Regions from separate parts of the Homo sapiens genome. Here region 1 is linked to region 2. The links are contacts of gene promoters, found by promoter capture Hi-C in blood cells and fetal thymus (Javierre and others, 2016). All regions are on one chromosome and are shown on one strand. Each heading gives the region's core, a stretch centred on a gene start or on the middle of the fragment in contact. The rest is flanking DNA. Distances are from core to core; before and after follow the strand shown.

Region 1 (7,385 bases), core at 2,083-4,582, 1.1 Mb after region 2:
GAGTGATACTCATAATTAATTAACTTGCCCAAAGTACAGACGCATTAAGAGGAGGTCCAAAACTATTTTTTTAAAAGTCTGAAACTAATATTTGCCCAGCTAATTATGGGTAAACATGAATCACTCCTTAACAGCCACAACATCAGAGGAAGTTTACCCTGCACAGAGAGAAATGGTGATCTAAACTTAACACAAGAAAAATAAAATTCATAGAGATTTTGGCTATAGAACTGTGCTCAACAGAAGGGAGGCTGTACAGTGACCCAACATTATCTCTGAAGCCTTTTATCTGTAAGATTGGTATGGATGGGGATGATACACAAATTTAGGATTCCCAACACATTTTCTTTGGTGTGTATAAATGATAATATGATCTATCTGTATGTCTATGCTATGTTCATTTGAATTTCAGAAGCTGAAGTGTATGGAGTAGAAGGGCACTCGGAATGAGCACATTTACTACTAGATGCTGATGGGTGAATATTACTGCATATGTTATTAGTTATAACAAACAGTATAGTACAATACTAAAAATGATAAAATTATCTTTTTAGTAATCTGGGTATGTACTGAAAGATGAAACTAAGTATGTTCAAAAGCAGAGTCCAACTTGCTACCATAGACACCTTCCGATGATACTTGTCAACTTCCCAGACATGATGCTAATGGCACAAATGACAGTGTCAAGAAACACTGTACTGTACCTGATCACAGATGATTCAACAATACTCAGCTCTGTGTCTGAGACTACGGTCTGGCGGGCCATGGCCTCTCGAGTTGCAAGTTGCTTCTTTCTCAGGCTCTTCAAGTTGTGAGATGGTGACCACTCCTGTAAAGCAAATGCAGACAAACCTAGAAGTGCTAGGTTTCCTTCTGTCAAAGAATCGTCCAGAAGAGCTGGGCACACACACCACTGCCCAGTATCATTTATTATTACTACACATGAATCCACATTTGTTCTTTAGATTTTACCTACTTAGAGAAAGGCTAAATGAATGCATTTTAATTGGAGCTTTTATGGCAAACTTCCAAAAGGTCTGACCTTTTGATGTTTTTATAAAATACTTACAAAATGAAAATAATGAATTCAATGATAGTATTGCCTATTCCTCGTCTCCTCCCCCATCTCTTATGTGCACACGATAAGACAATCACAGTTCTCGAACCAGGGTCCTTTATCATCCATAGATTCCTCCAAAATCACTTGTTTTATTTATATATTCTTTTATATTCCACCTATTGTAAAGCCTTTTAGTCCAATATCCTCGCATATGTATAAGTTCTTAACATGTAGTTATTATCTAATTTACCTAAATAGTATTGTGTTTATATGTGTGTGTGTGTGTGTGTGTGTGTATATATATATATATACTTCATCCTGTTTCTTACTCTTTCCACTGTATTTAAGTCCTCTTCCTCCTGTTTCTGCATGCTACGTAATACTCCATGGGTGCATCAGCCAATTGTTAATCTGTCTCCTCTCTCAGTAAAAACACACAGATGGTCTCCAAACTCACATCATGACAAAACACACCAGTCAATATCCTTGCAAAAGTTCATTTACGACCAAGAGCTCAGCGGACACAGAAGATGTCTGTGTTTGCCCAAGTGCTGCCAGCGTGCTTTACAGAATGGCTGCATTGGTCTACATTCCTACCAGCAATGCACAAGGATTCCCATACCCTATGTTCCACCCGTACTTAACACTATATGGCTGTCCAGTTTTTGTTAGTCTAAACGGTAGATCCATATCATGGTTTGAACATCTCTGAAAACTGATGAGTTTGAACATTCCTTTATATGGCTTGTTGGCCTTTTAGGTTTCTCTGCCTCTCATTAGCTCTTCACAGACTTTGTTCATTTTCTCACTAGGGTTCCCGCTTTTTTTCACTGTTGACTTGCAGGAGTTTCTAGTTAAATTTAGACACTGGAAAATTTGTTTTCCCAAAATGTCTTCTGTATTTAACTTTGACATCTTCATCAAACAAAAAGCATTAATCTTGATTAATTAAATGCATTGTTTCTTTTTTTTTTTTGCCTTTTGGTTTGAGCTTCTGATGTCTCCTCCTGCCTCTAGGTCACAGCAATATTTTGTATTTTGTTATATTCAATTTTATAGCTTTACATTTTTACATTTAGGTCTTTAGTCCTGTGACACTCACTTCTCTATACGGTATTAAGTAGAGATCAAGTATTTTTCTCCATAAAGTGAGACAGTTTTCCCAACACCGTCTACTACACAGTCTGTCCATCCTCTTTGATTTGTGCTACTTTACTGTATATTAAGTCCCCAAATATTCATGGGTCTGTTCCTGAGCTCTTTATTAGGTTGACTCACTTTCTATTCTTGTGCCAATACAATACTGATTTTATTTCCATGGTTTTGTAAGATGTACTAATATCAGGTAGGAAGGGCCAACCCCACCCACACCTCCCACATTTACTCCTCTTTATTCAAGGATGACTTAGCTATTTAGGACCTTTATTCTTTCATAAACATTTTTGAATATGTTTACCATATTCCTCAAAATATCCAAATGAAACTTGAATTGGAATTGCACTAATATGATATTAGGTTGATTTATCCAAGAAAATAAGAATTATCTCCATTTATTTAGATCATCTTCTCTGAACACACATTTTTAACCAAAAAAATGACATTGGCAGTAATGATTTTGATTCAAGCTTAAGCAAAACATTCACCACATACATATATACCTAAATAAGCTATTAAATTCTTAAATTGTAACTTACCAAAGCAGTTATTGTAGGGAAGTTTTTGGACATCTCTCTAAGAAGGGTACAAGTCCTAACATCCCATAGCTCCAGGGGTTTATCTCTGAATACGACTGCCAAATACTGCCTAAAATAAACAAAATTACTAAATAAGCCCCTTTTTGCAAAAATTTCACCATGAATTAGAGCAAATAAAAAGTTCAGTAAATTGAAAAACTCAGCTGACGCATTCTAAATATAGACAATTTAAACTACCATTTAGCACCATGATTAACAGTCATAAGAAGGTAAAGCTCTAAGTGACCTGTAAGAGAACATACAGTCTCACACAATTAGGCAAGGAGTCCAACTTGGAAGAAAGAGTGGCATAGATTCAAACCCTGATGCCACAACTTATGTTAACCCTCCTGAGGCTCAACTTCTCACACATGACAGGAGAATCTCATCATGTACCTCAATTAATTGATATACAGATTATGGTAAACATTCAATGAAAAAGTATGTAAAGTTTCTATCATTCTACTACAGTTGGTATTCAACAAATGCCACTTTATTCACTTTCTGTTAAGCCTGAAAGAAGTACTGAATGACATCAACGAGTGCAATTCAACAAATATAATTTGAGCACTGATTACTCAATAAGCATTATGAGGAACTAAAATATTATCAGCAAATGATGGCTGACATAGAGGAAATGTGACAGAGTAGGAAGATCCCTGTACTCCCTGTATCAAAGGACTGAGATTCTTCCACTCAGGACCATGTGTGACCCCAACAGAAAGTAGAAATTTACAGAAAGATACCTGGCAAAACACCCAAATAGTTTGAAGTTAAAAAATATACCTCTGAATAACACCCCATGGAAATTTTTAAAGATTATAATGTGAATTAAAATGAAAACATATAACCATAACAAAAATTGTAGGATACAGGAAAACTGGTGCTCATATAGCATTAACTGTTTACATTACATTTTAGAGAATCAACTTAATTCAATTATCTAAGTTTCTATTTTAGAAAACTATGTAAAAAAAGGAGAGCATATTTAAAAAGTAAGCAGAAGAACAAAAGATAAGCATGACAGACAATGAAATTGAAAATGGAAAAATCATAGAGAAGAATCAAATGAATCAAAAGTAGTTTCTTGGAAAAGATCAATAAATAAAATTGGTTGATATAATTTACTGATATTAGGAGTGGGAAAGATAATCACTGATCATAGATCCATGATGAACAAGCTTATTTCAATAAATTAATAAACTCAGCAACTTCAACAAAATGGACAGATTACTTGGAAGACACCAATTACCAAAGCTCAAAAAAAGAGAATCTAAATAGTCCTATATTTATGAAAAAAAAAAACAAAACTGAATTTGTATTTAAAAACTTTGCCACAAAGAAAATTTTAGGTTCAGATGGGTTTCCTAATAAATTTTTCCCATTTAGTAAGAATAATATCAATTCTACACAAACTCATTCAAAAAAAAAGGAGAGAGAATACTTTACAACACGTTCTGCAAGGTCAGTATTACCCTGATACCAAAACAAAGGATATTACATAAAAACGACACCAATATCCTTCATGAACATAGATATAAAAACTCTTAATAATATATCATAAAACTCTTAATAATATATCAATAAATCAAATCCAGCAATATGTCAAAACAGTAATACATCACGACCAACTAGAGTTTATTCCGGGAATGTCATGTTGGCTTAACATCTGAAAATCAATCAATGTAATTCACCATATTAGTGAACTTCAAAAAGAAAAACAAAATAACACACACACACCATATGATGATATCAATGAATACAGAAAAAGCATTTGATAAATTCAACACCTACTCATAATACAAAGGCTCAGCAAACTAGGAATAAAACTTTTTCAACTTGATAAAGGAAATATACAAAAAATCTACAGCTAGTATCATACTTAATGTTGAAAGACTGAATGCTTTCTCCATAAGGTCCAGGATCAGAGCAAAGATGTCAGCTCGTAGCTGACATCTCAGTTCTAATCAACACTATACAGGAGGTCCTAATTAGTGCAAGCAAAAAGAAGGCCTATAGATCGAAAAGATGTAAAGATGTCTTTACTAGCAAACGAGACTGTCTCTATAGAAAATCCTAAAGAATTAACAAAAGCACCTATACTAGAAGTAATAACTAAGCTTAGCATGGTCACAAGGCACAAGGTCAATATCAGAAAATTAACTGTATTTTAATATACAAATAATAAATAATTGAAATTTAAAAATGTCATTTATAAAAGCATCAAAGAAAACACAAAATAAACAAATAATATGTAAGACTTACACACTGAAAACTACAAAATATTGCTGAAATTTTAAAAGACCTAAATAAGTGGAGAGACATACCATGTTCATGAGTTACAAAACTTGTTAAGATACCAATTCTTCCCCTCACTGATTGATGGGTTCAATGCAATCCCAATCAAAATCTCAGGAAGATTTTTTGATAAAACTGATAGTCTGATTCTAAAATTTATATGGAAATGCAAAGATCTTAGAAAAGCCAAAACAAGTTTGAAAACTACTTTAGAAAGCTTACTCTTTCTTTGTAATTTTGATTGATTTTCATTCAGTTTCTATTTTTAATAATACTGCTTTACATGTTATTTTCCCCTGAAACAAAAAAACTCAATTTCTGGAAGCAAAATGAGTTTAAATTATACATAAAGAAAATGAGTTCTTTCACTCAGTAACTCCATGCTTAGATAGAAGTACATAAGAACTTTATCCGAAAGTAAATAACGATTCATGCAAAAGTTACTTCATCTTTTTAGAAGTAGAGAATTAAAAGTGATAGCAACTTAATTTTGTAATCAAAATATTTTCTTTGGGCTGCATATCACCATTTGCTATCACTAAAAAGATTCCATATGCATTCCAGCACATTCCCATTTTCTTAAAGATTAAAAAAATCCACGAGATTTCATTGTGATAACACCATAGATTTTTTTTTAGGTTGACACTTACTTCAAATGAGATACTTTAATCATTTCGATGGCAGATTCATCATTGCCTCTTTCACCACGAAAAGCAATGCTCCTACCTTTAATTGCAAATATTTAAAAAAGTGAGAACAGTGCATAAAACATGTATGAAAAACAAGAAGCCACGCCAATGTAATTTGATCAGTCCTACCCATCCTACCCTCTGTTCTCCTATTCATTCTTCCATTTGCTTCTAATCTGTTTCTGTTTTTTCGGGTTTTTTTTTTTGAGATGGTCTCACTTTGTTACCCAGGCTGGAGTGCAATGGCGCAATCTTGGCTCACTGCAACCTCCGCCTCCCAGGTTCAAGTGATTTTCTTGCCTTAGCATCCCGAGTAGCTGGGATTACAGGCGCTCGCCACCACGCCAGCTCATTTTTGTACTCCTAGTAGAGATGGGGTTTCACCATGTTGGCCAGGCTGGTCTCGATCTCCTAACCTCTAGTGATCCATCTGCCTCAGCCTCCCAAAGCACTGGGATTACAGGTGTGAGCCACGGCGCCCAGTTCCTTCTAAGCTGTTTCTAATAATGTAAGTTCAAAGAATATTCTTAAAAGTGTTACAAACTAATGATCAATAATATATCACATATTCAGATATTTATTTTGTAAAAAGGCATTTTCATTTGTCACACAGTTTCTTGAATTCTATAATTCAATTTTAGAAATTTAAAAAAACAATGTTAAGTTTTAAGATATTTATGGTACAGCAATTGTCTGGTGCGAAAACTACTTATTTAAAGTAATATTTAATACAAACATTCCCATGTTTCCAAATACTAACTAGTGGGGGAAAAACTCTTGAAACATGTATTTAAGATCTTCTTGTCCCATGTGCAAAATACTAGTTAAATATTTTGAACATGTTCCTCTCAAAACATCTTTATAAACTGGAAACTAGGGAATAACTACGGTGTTCATGTATGCTGTGAAAGAATGAGTTACCCGCAAAGGAAGTTACATGATTTTCTGTGAATAAAAAAAGTATAAATTCTACCTTGTATGTTTTAGTATCTTGTGTTAGATTTTTATCTACATTAAACAAAAGAGAGAACATACTCAATTCAAGGACAACTGAAGGCCTAAACGCCTTCCTACTCTTTGTTGAGATTCCATCATGTGGAATCTCACTATACTCACTATTATTATACCCCAAACAGCCCATGTCCTGTCCTGACTGCACTAGTCTGCTGCCCTCCTTAGAAGCCCAGGCTATAAAAGTCTACCATCTATGAACTCAAATATCCCACTTAAGGAAATCTGTAACTGTTACTGTAGATGTTTGTTCCTTAAAAATACATCTGTGCAAAGCAGATTTTAAGTTATCTAACAGTCCTGAACTTGAGCTGACCAAAACAAATAAAACAGGGATTTTTTTTCTTTTTTTTAAGTCAATGATACTAGACAACAGCATTTTATCCCTGGGATCACTAGACACAGGGCCAGTACCATTCTGCTGGCAAATTAGGAACTTGGGGATGAGAGTCAGTGGACAGGTCACTTCCAATGAGACTAGAGCAGCAACACTGGACTAAAGACGGGAATGATTCCTGGAAGTTCAGCAACATACCCTGAGAAGTAAGAACAACTGGATCTTTGAGAGCTTGAAAATACATATGGAGAACATAA
Region 2 (7,324 bases), core at 1,243-3,742:
CTGCACTGCTTTTATGAGTTGTAACACTCACTGTGAAGGTCTGCAGCTTCATTTCTGAGGCCAGCAATACCACAAACCCACCGGGAGGAACGAACAACTCCAGACACGCCGCATTAAGAGCTGTAACACTCACCGTGAAGGTCTGCAGCTTCACTCCTGAGCGAGTGAGACCACGAACCCACCAGAAAGAAGAAACTGCGAACACATCTGAACATCATAAGGAAAAAACTCCGGACACATCACCTTTAAGAACTGTAACACTCACTGCGAGGGTCCGCGGCTTCATTCCTGAAGTCAGTGAGACCAAGAACCCACCAATTCTGGACACACTTTCACCTGGAAGAACGCTAAGTATTCCATTACAGAACACTGAGCTACAAGCAACAACTATGAAACAATGACCTGGTTTAAACCATGATTTATGGCTTACTTTACAGGGAGTCTGGAGGCATGTGGTTGATTCAGCAATTCAGCCATGTCCATCTTTGCTCTCCAGTGTCTCCAGCACTCTAGTCTTTCCTCATGCTTGTCACCTCGTGAGTACCAGATGCTGCCAATATGGCAGGCTCCACATTTTTTCTTTCAGACGTTGTTTCATTCTTGTCACCCAGGCTGGAGTGCAATGGCGCGATCTCTGCTCACTGCAACCTCCACCTCCCAGCTTCAAGCAGTTCTCTTGCCTCAGCCTCCCGATTAGCTGGGATTACAGACACGCACCATTATGCCCGCTAATTGGCAGGTTCCCCATTTCTTATGCCAGCCATCTCAAAGGGGGTAGGGGGTCAAGGGTTTTCTTTTCAGGAAGGTTTGTATTCCATCCAGTTGGGAAACCCTTTCACATCTCACGGACCCAGGTTGCATCACATGACCCTTGACCAGTCACTGGGGAAGGGGAATGACATTACCGTGACCTGGTTAGAGTGATCACGTTTCATCTAAGGAAGTAGGCACACACGTCCCCTTCAGGAAATACAGATAAGCAGGGATGGGTGAGGTAGTAGCTGTTGGACAGCAATGAACAGTGCCTAACTTAAGTTTAGTAGACATGATGCACAAAATGGAATATTTGTAGGTTGTGTAATAACCCAACTTATAATATTGGTCTTTTGAGAAAATGTGTTCTTAGCACCAAAGACAACTTTTGGGAAACAATACTCGAATACAATCCAAAATGCACGGAGTGAAATTCATACATTTATCTTTCAAAGTATACTTAACATAATTCCATCTTTCTTGGGCCCTTCAGGAGGTATTCTTAGAATCTTCTAGTTTGAGAATCAGAATCAGGCTGTGCCTGGTGGCCCATGCTTGTAATCCCAGTACTTAGGGAGGCCGAGGTGGGCGGATCACTTGAGGTCAGGAGATGGGGTTGCAGTGAGCCAAGATAGTGCCACTGTACTCCAGCCTCGGCAGAGCAAGGTCTTAAAAAAAAAAAAAAAATCAAATGTGAACATAGACTGTCATTAAAATCAACCCAACAATCCCATAGACTGTTTACTATTTTTTTAATAAACTTAGAAATTATCATTTCTAGTCTTAAGGTTGAAACTTACCTTTGTTTTATCTGAGTTCCTTCCTCAGGAAAGGACCTCCAGAGCCTCTCAAAAAGTATCAAAAAACTGAAACTCGCCATATCACCGCATTCCAGACAATGAGATGCCAAGCCCCTCATGCATCCCCATAGCTTCCTTCCCCCTCCCGAGTTCCTCTTTTCCCATACATTGTTACATTGCTTCCCTGCAACTGTATAAACCCTTAATTTTAGTTGGTCAGGGCAATGGATTTGAGACTGAGCTTCCAACTCCCTGAGTGCAGCACCCTACTAAAGCCTTCTTCCTTGGTAATAATGGTTTTCTCAGTGATTTCTGTGAGGGGGCAGCGGGTCCTAGAACAAAACCCTGGTGCTCTGGTGACATTCTGTTGTAGATATTTAGAAGGATGTTTACCTGTTAATTTGTTCTGCTATCCTCACAAAAAATGGTATTGCCAGCTGCACATAAATATTTGATTCATCCACCCACCCCTGTTCCCCACCCCCCCGACCCCAGCCATGATGGCACAGGGAAACTGAGGTCGCAGGTGAGCAGCAGACCGCGTCTGGACTCCACATCCCGCGCTCATCCTGCTCCACAGCAGGAAGCTCGTTCAACACACATGGACTGCGTGCCCATGTGGGTGCCAGGCTGCGGCTGTGTCCTGGGCAGGCAAAGGGACCTAGGGAAGATGCAGGTCCAGGAGGGTGGGAAAGTAGGGGCAGAAAACCAAGATTCTCACAGCCCTGCAGTGTGGAGTAAGAGCTCATTACACCTCTTGTCAAGGGAACAAAGGATCCCCGCCAGGCCCCTCTTGTGCACCCAGCGGTCCCCCCAGGCGCCTTGGAGACCCGGCCGGGCCCGTCGCCGGCCTCCAGCCACAGGCGTCGCTGTGCGCTCGCGCGGGCCCGGGAGCCGCGTTCCGCCGGGAGCAGGCGCTGGCGCAGAGCAGGGGTTTCAGTTTCTGGCGCGAACTTCCGCCGTTCCGAAGTTGCACGGTGAATTGGCGCTATGTCTGGGGACAGCAGCGGCCGCGGGCCAGAGGGCCGGGGCCGGGGCCGCGACCCGCATCGGGATCGCACCCGCTCCCGCTCCCGCTCGCGGTCCCCTTTGTCGCCCAGGTCCCGCCGCGGCTCTGCGCGGGAGCGCAGAGAGGCCCCAGAGCGCCCGAGCCTGGAGGACACAGAGCCGTCGGATTCCGGGGACGAGATGATGGACCCGGCCAGCTTGGAGGCGGAGGCCGACCAAGGCCTGTGCCGCCAGATCCGCCATCAGTACCGGGCGCTCATCAACTCCGTCCAACGTAAGGCGGCGCCTCCGGGCGGCGCGGGCCCGGACGGGCCGCTGTCCCCGCCCTGCGCCGGGCGCGGGGGGAGGGCACCGGAGGCAGGTGCCGGGCGGAGGCCCGGCGCGGCGTTAGTAGAGACGCGCCGGGTGCCAGCCCCTCGCCGCACCTTAAATTGTTGACAAAGTGCTCCCACTTTGTGGCTGGAGCCGTACGACCTTGGCGCGGGTCCCCGAGTGGCGGGCTGGAAAAGCTGGAGGCCAGAGCCGTTCGCGGACTCGCCCGAGCCCAGCCAGCCAGTGGGGAGAGGCAGGACGCGGACTCCGCGTGCTTTGATTGCGCCCGGCAGTCCTCGGCGTGGGCTCCCGGCCTCGCAGCGGCAGCTGCAGCTGCAGCGGCACGCGAGAGCTGTCAAATGCACGTTCTCGGACCCCACCCGGACCCGCGGAATTCGAATCTCTGGGTGGGTCCGCGCAACTGTGGAGTGGCCCTCCAGGTGATGGTGTGTATTGCTTGCAAAGTTTGAGAACCACTCAGTTATGGAGCACTCAGAGGCTGCAGCCGGAGTCCAGCCCTTTGGGTTAAGGTTAGAGGGAGCTAGGGTTTCCTTTTAAAATTCATGCTGCATAAAGGGTAGGGTGGCCTTTCTCCTTTTCCGGGTCATTTTGGTTAAAAAGATAAAGATGTTCGAAGTAATTACTCAGAGCGCAGGGGCCGGGGCTTGGCTTTACTGTTGCAGGTGATAACCTTGTCAACTGCTTATTAGTGAATGCTGAACAAATTTCCCAAAGTTTGTATTTTTAAAAATAGAAAACCGTGAGGACATACTGAATGCCGGTGACAAATTAACAGAGGTCCTTGAAGAGGCTAACACTCTGTTTAATGAAGGTAATTTGTTATTTTATATGTTATTTCGTGTTTTATGATACTTTTAATTAGTGTTACATAAGCGCCAAATTATTGACATAAAACAATTCCCACATTTGTAATAGTGCTTTCCCAGTTCGGGAACCGTTTCATTATAGCAATAATGCCATTTTTATTATGCACTTACCATATAATAAGGGCTTTACATGAAAATTTGGGGGTAGGTTCCGCAGTCTGTGTTAAGCCCCCAGTTGATTCTGTTGCCTCTTCAAGTTTGAGAACGTTACATGTGTTATCTTGTTTCTTTTTCTTGTGTTTACTGCCGTATCCCTAGTATACATTGGTTGAGTGGATGAATTACAGAACTGAGCTAGCCTCTGAAATCCTGTTTCTTTTCCTGTCCCATTCTGTTTTGCCTTCCTCAGCTCCCTGCTATTGGTCCACGTGTAACACAATGGAGGTGGCAAAGCCTGCAAGTGTACCTGCTGGTCTCCAGTCTGGGGTGTGTTGTGTGTGAGTGAGTGAGTGAGAGAGATCCCAGAGCACTGAACTCTAGGCCATGGGTGCTTTAAAAAATAACCTTAGTTTGAATTGAAAGCAGAGGCAGTGGTATTGGTAGCAGCTGTCTGTCTGCTTGGTGACAGAGGGGTACTCCCTGATGTGGGTACTTGGTCATAGAGCCACAGGACTACTACCCAGACCACTGTCCCCTCCAGCCCTCTCTGACGGGTCTGTGGGAACATAGGGGAGAATGCAGCCAAATATATCCTTTTTTTTTTTTTTTTTGAGGTTTGAGATGGAGTCTCTGTTGCCCAGGCTGGAGTGCAGTAGCACAATCTCGGCTCACTGCAACCTCCACCTCCCAGGTTCAAGCAATTCTCCTACCTCAGCGTCCCGAGTAGCTGGGATTACAGGTGTGCTCCATCACACCCAGCTAATTTTTGTATTTTTAGTAGAGACGGGTTTCGCCATGTTGGCCAGGCTGGTCTCGAACTCCTGACCTCAGGTAATCCACCTGCCTCCGCCTCCCACAGTGCTGGGATTACAGGCATGAGCCACCGCCCCCGGCTGGTTCCTCATATTCTTAAAGGACTAGAACGTATATTTTTAGTCATTGCTGAGGATGACTAGTTCTTTAAATGTCTCCTTTTATCACTTTATATATGCTCTCCAATTTCTTTGACCACAGCCTCCTTACCATTCCCCATCTTAGTCTACCGCATTTGCTAACTCTCATCAAAACCTTCAGGAACCGGGTGTTTCTCCTTCACCTGGTTAAATCCCTCTACTACCCTCTTAAGTTTTGTCTTCCCTTCGCAGCCTGGACTCCCAGTCTCCTTACTGTTAGTCTTGCTTGACTTGACTCAATTACTCCCTTGATATTTACTGTGCATCTAGTCAGTTCTTTATCCCCACATCATTCCCCCCTCAGCTATTTCCAGTATTTAAAGCAATATTTTAGAGCAAAATTATTCACTCATTGGAGCCCTAGGAGTTGCTCAGCAAACAACAGATGCTGGCATTCATGGATTTGATGGTCTCAGTTTGTAAAATAAATAAATAAATGAAAGGGGAAGGGAGTGGGGCAGGCAGGCACAGGATACTCATGGGAGATAAAGAAGGGATCAACAAAAGGAAACAGCGGGGCTGAGGGGGTTGCTTAATCAGACCCTGCAGGCAACAGAGAGTATGAAAAATAGTCTGGGAACACCTACACCTGTCGCCCAGGCTGGAGTGCAGTGGCATGATCTTGGCTCACTGCAACCTCTGCCCCCCCCAGGTTAAAGCTATTCTCCAGCTTCAGCCACCCGAGTAGCTGGGATTACAGGTGTGCACCACCATGCCCAGCTAATTTTTGATTCTTTAGTAGAGATGGGGTTTCACCACGTTGCCCAGGCTGGTCTCAAACTTTGGAGCTCAAAGTGATCCGCCTGCCTCGGCTTCCCAAAGTGTAGGGATTACAGGCATGAGCTGCTGTGCCCAGCCTGTTTCTGCATTAATTTAAATCTTTTTTTTCCATAGCTTTTCTTAAATCCCATGTCCTCTGTCAAGCCTTTTTTGAGTATCCGTCCTCGGGTCACTACCTGCTACCTGTAGACTGTTCATTTGGGTGGCTTTGCTGGGGTTGCCTGTGAAGCCATACAGAGGCATGAGCCTCCTAGTGCCAGCCTAGCACATGCCATGATTTTGGTTAGCAACTTTAGCAACTTACCTATTGCTTAGCAGCTTACCTATTGCTGTTCACAAACCACCATGCCAAGCACAGGGCCCTACATGTAGTGGGAATTTGATTTTCCTTACGTCAGCACACATGATCATCGTGATTAGGATGGAGGGAAAAGTGAGTATTAGACATGACGGGTTTTGCTCAACTGGAGTTATTTAAGAGATTGTGATTCAGCTAACAGTAGGAGAACTAGACAGAAAGCTGGCTTTTAGGAAGACTGGTCAGCTTTCATTAGAGATTTTGGTGAGTTGGGCACAGGAGAAAGTTTTTTTTTGTTTTTGTTTTTGTTTTGAGACAGCCTCTTGCTCTGACACCCAGGCTGGAGTGCAGTGGCGCGATCTTGGCTTACTGCAAGCTCTGCCTCCCGGGTTCACGCCATTCTGCCTCAGCCTCCCAAGTAGCTGGGACTACAGGCGCCCGCCACCACGCCCTGCTAATTTTTTGTATTTTTAGTAGAGCTGGGGTTTCACCGTGTTAGCCAGGATGGTCTCGATCTCCTGACCTCGTGATCCGCCCGCCTTGGCCTCCCAAAGTGCTGGGATTACAGGCTTGAGCCACCGCACCTGGCCAGGAGCACGTTTTAGAAGGAGATGTGTCAGTTGCCTATTGAGATTTTTTTTTTTTTTTAGTCCAGTGGGAAATCCTGGTAAGTAGTTGGAAATGTAGGGAAAAAGTCTATGGATAATGTGTATTTTGTAATGTGAATATTTTCTTTCTTTTTTGAATAGTGTCCCGAGCAAGAGAAGCAGTCCTGGATGCCCACTTTCTTGTTTTGGCTTCAGATTTGGGCAAAGAGAAAGCAAAGCAGCTGCGCTCAGACCTGAGCTCCTTTGACATGTTAAGATATGTTGAAACTCTAGTAAGTTCAAAGCTACAGACTCTGAATAAAAAATGTTCTGTTATATATTATAATTATTTACTGTGCTCATATCCATATGCAGATGATTTCACTTCATTCTTCTTTTTTGGTCTCAGATTCCTCTGTAGAGATCTTACCAATTTAAACAGACGAAAGTAGAACCATGTGGTGGAATCTTGGGTGGGGGCTTGGAGTAAAAATCTCGTAGCATTCTGTCTTAAGATGCTGGGTGCTATGGTCATTTGCCAATGGCCATTTTTCCTCTGTTCACTGGTGTTCTAGATCATTCTCAGTGACCTCAGACCTTTGTCCTGGGCTGGACAAAAGCCCACTCTGCGATGGCAGAGCTCAGCTGGAATTGAGTTAGGCCTGGCGAGAGGGCATGTTTTGGTCTGTCTTTGAGAATATTTCAAAACCATGTGAATATGATTGGGTTTTGCTTTTTTTTTTTTTTTTTTTTTTCCTTTGAGACAGAGTCTCGCTCTGTCGCCCAGGCTGGAGTGCAGTGGCGTGATCTCGGCTCACTGCAAGCTCTGCCTCCTGGGTTCACGCCA

Evidence for each region. Contacts are between HindIII fragments. The CHiCAGO score rates a contact against its expected background, and 5 or more counts as called.
Region 1: a fragment that was not itself captured here is called in contact with the fragment with the promoter of NSMCE4A in region 2 in 1 of 17 cell types (total B cells); the score reaches 5.1 in total B cells.

The regions. Positions count from the first base shown.
Region 1 is chr10:120,879,258-120,886,642 of GRCh38, reverse strand. WDR11 (WD repeat domain 11) reads right to left here. Exons shown (of 29, transcript NM_018117.12): 13 at 5,742-5,817; 14 at 2,755-2,863; 15 at 705-829. Among named protein-coding and RNA genes, the nearest start is that of WDR11, 32 kb to the right of the region's middle. The HindIII fragment of the contact is 1,289 bases long and covers 2,688-3,976 here.
Region 2 is chr10:121,970,385-121,977,708 of GRCh38, reverse strand. NSMCE4A (NSE4A component of SMC5/6 complex) reads left to right here and starts at 2,492. Exons shown (of 11, transcript NM_017615.3): 1 at 2,492-2,835; 2 at 3,628-3,705; 3 at 6,640-6,770. The coding sequence starts at 2,544. It overlaps LOC124902517 (a long non-coding RNA gene), which reads right to left and starts at 2,842. Exons shown (of 2, transcript XR_007062322.1): 1 at 1,554-2,842; 2 at 1-1,421. RefSeq lists an enhancer at 2,058-2,853 and a silencer at 2,291-3,090. The HindIII fragment of the contact is 9,349 bases long and covers 1-7,324 here.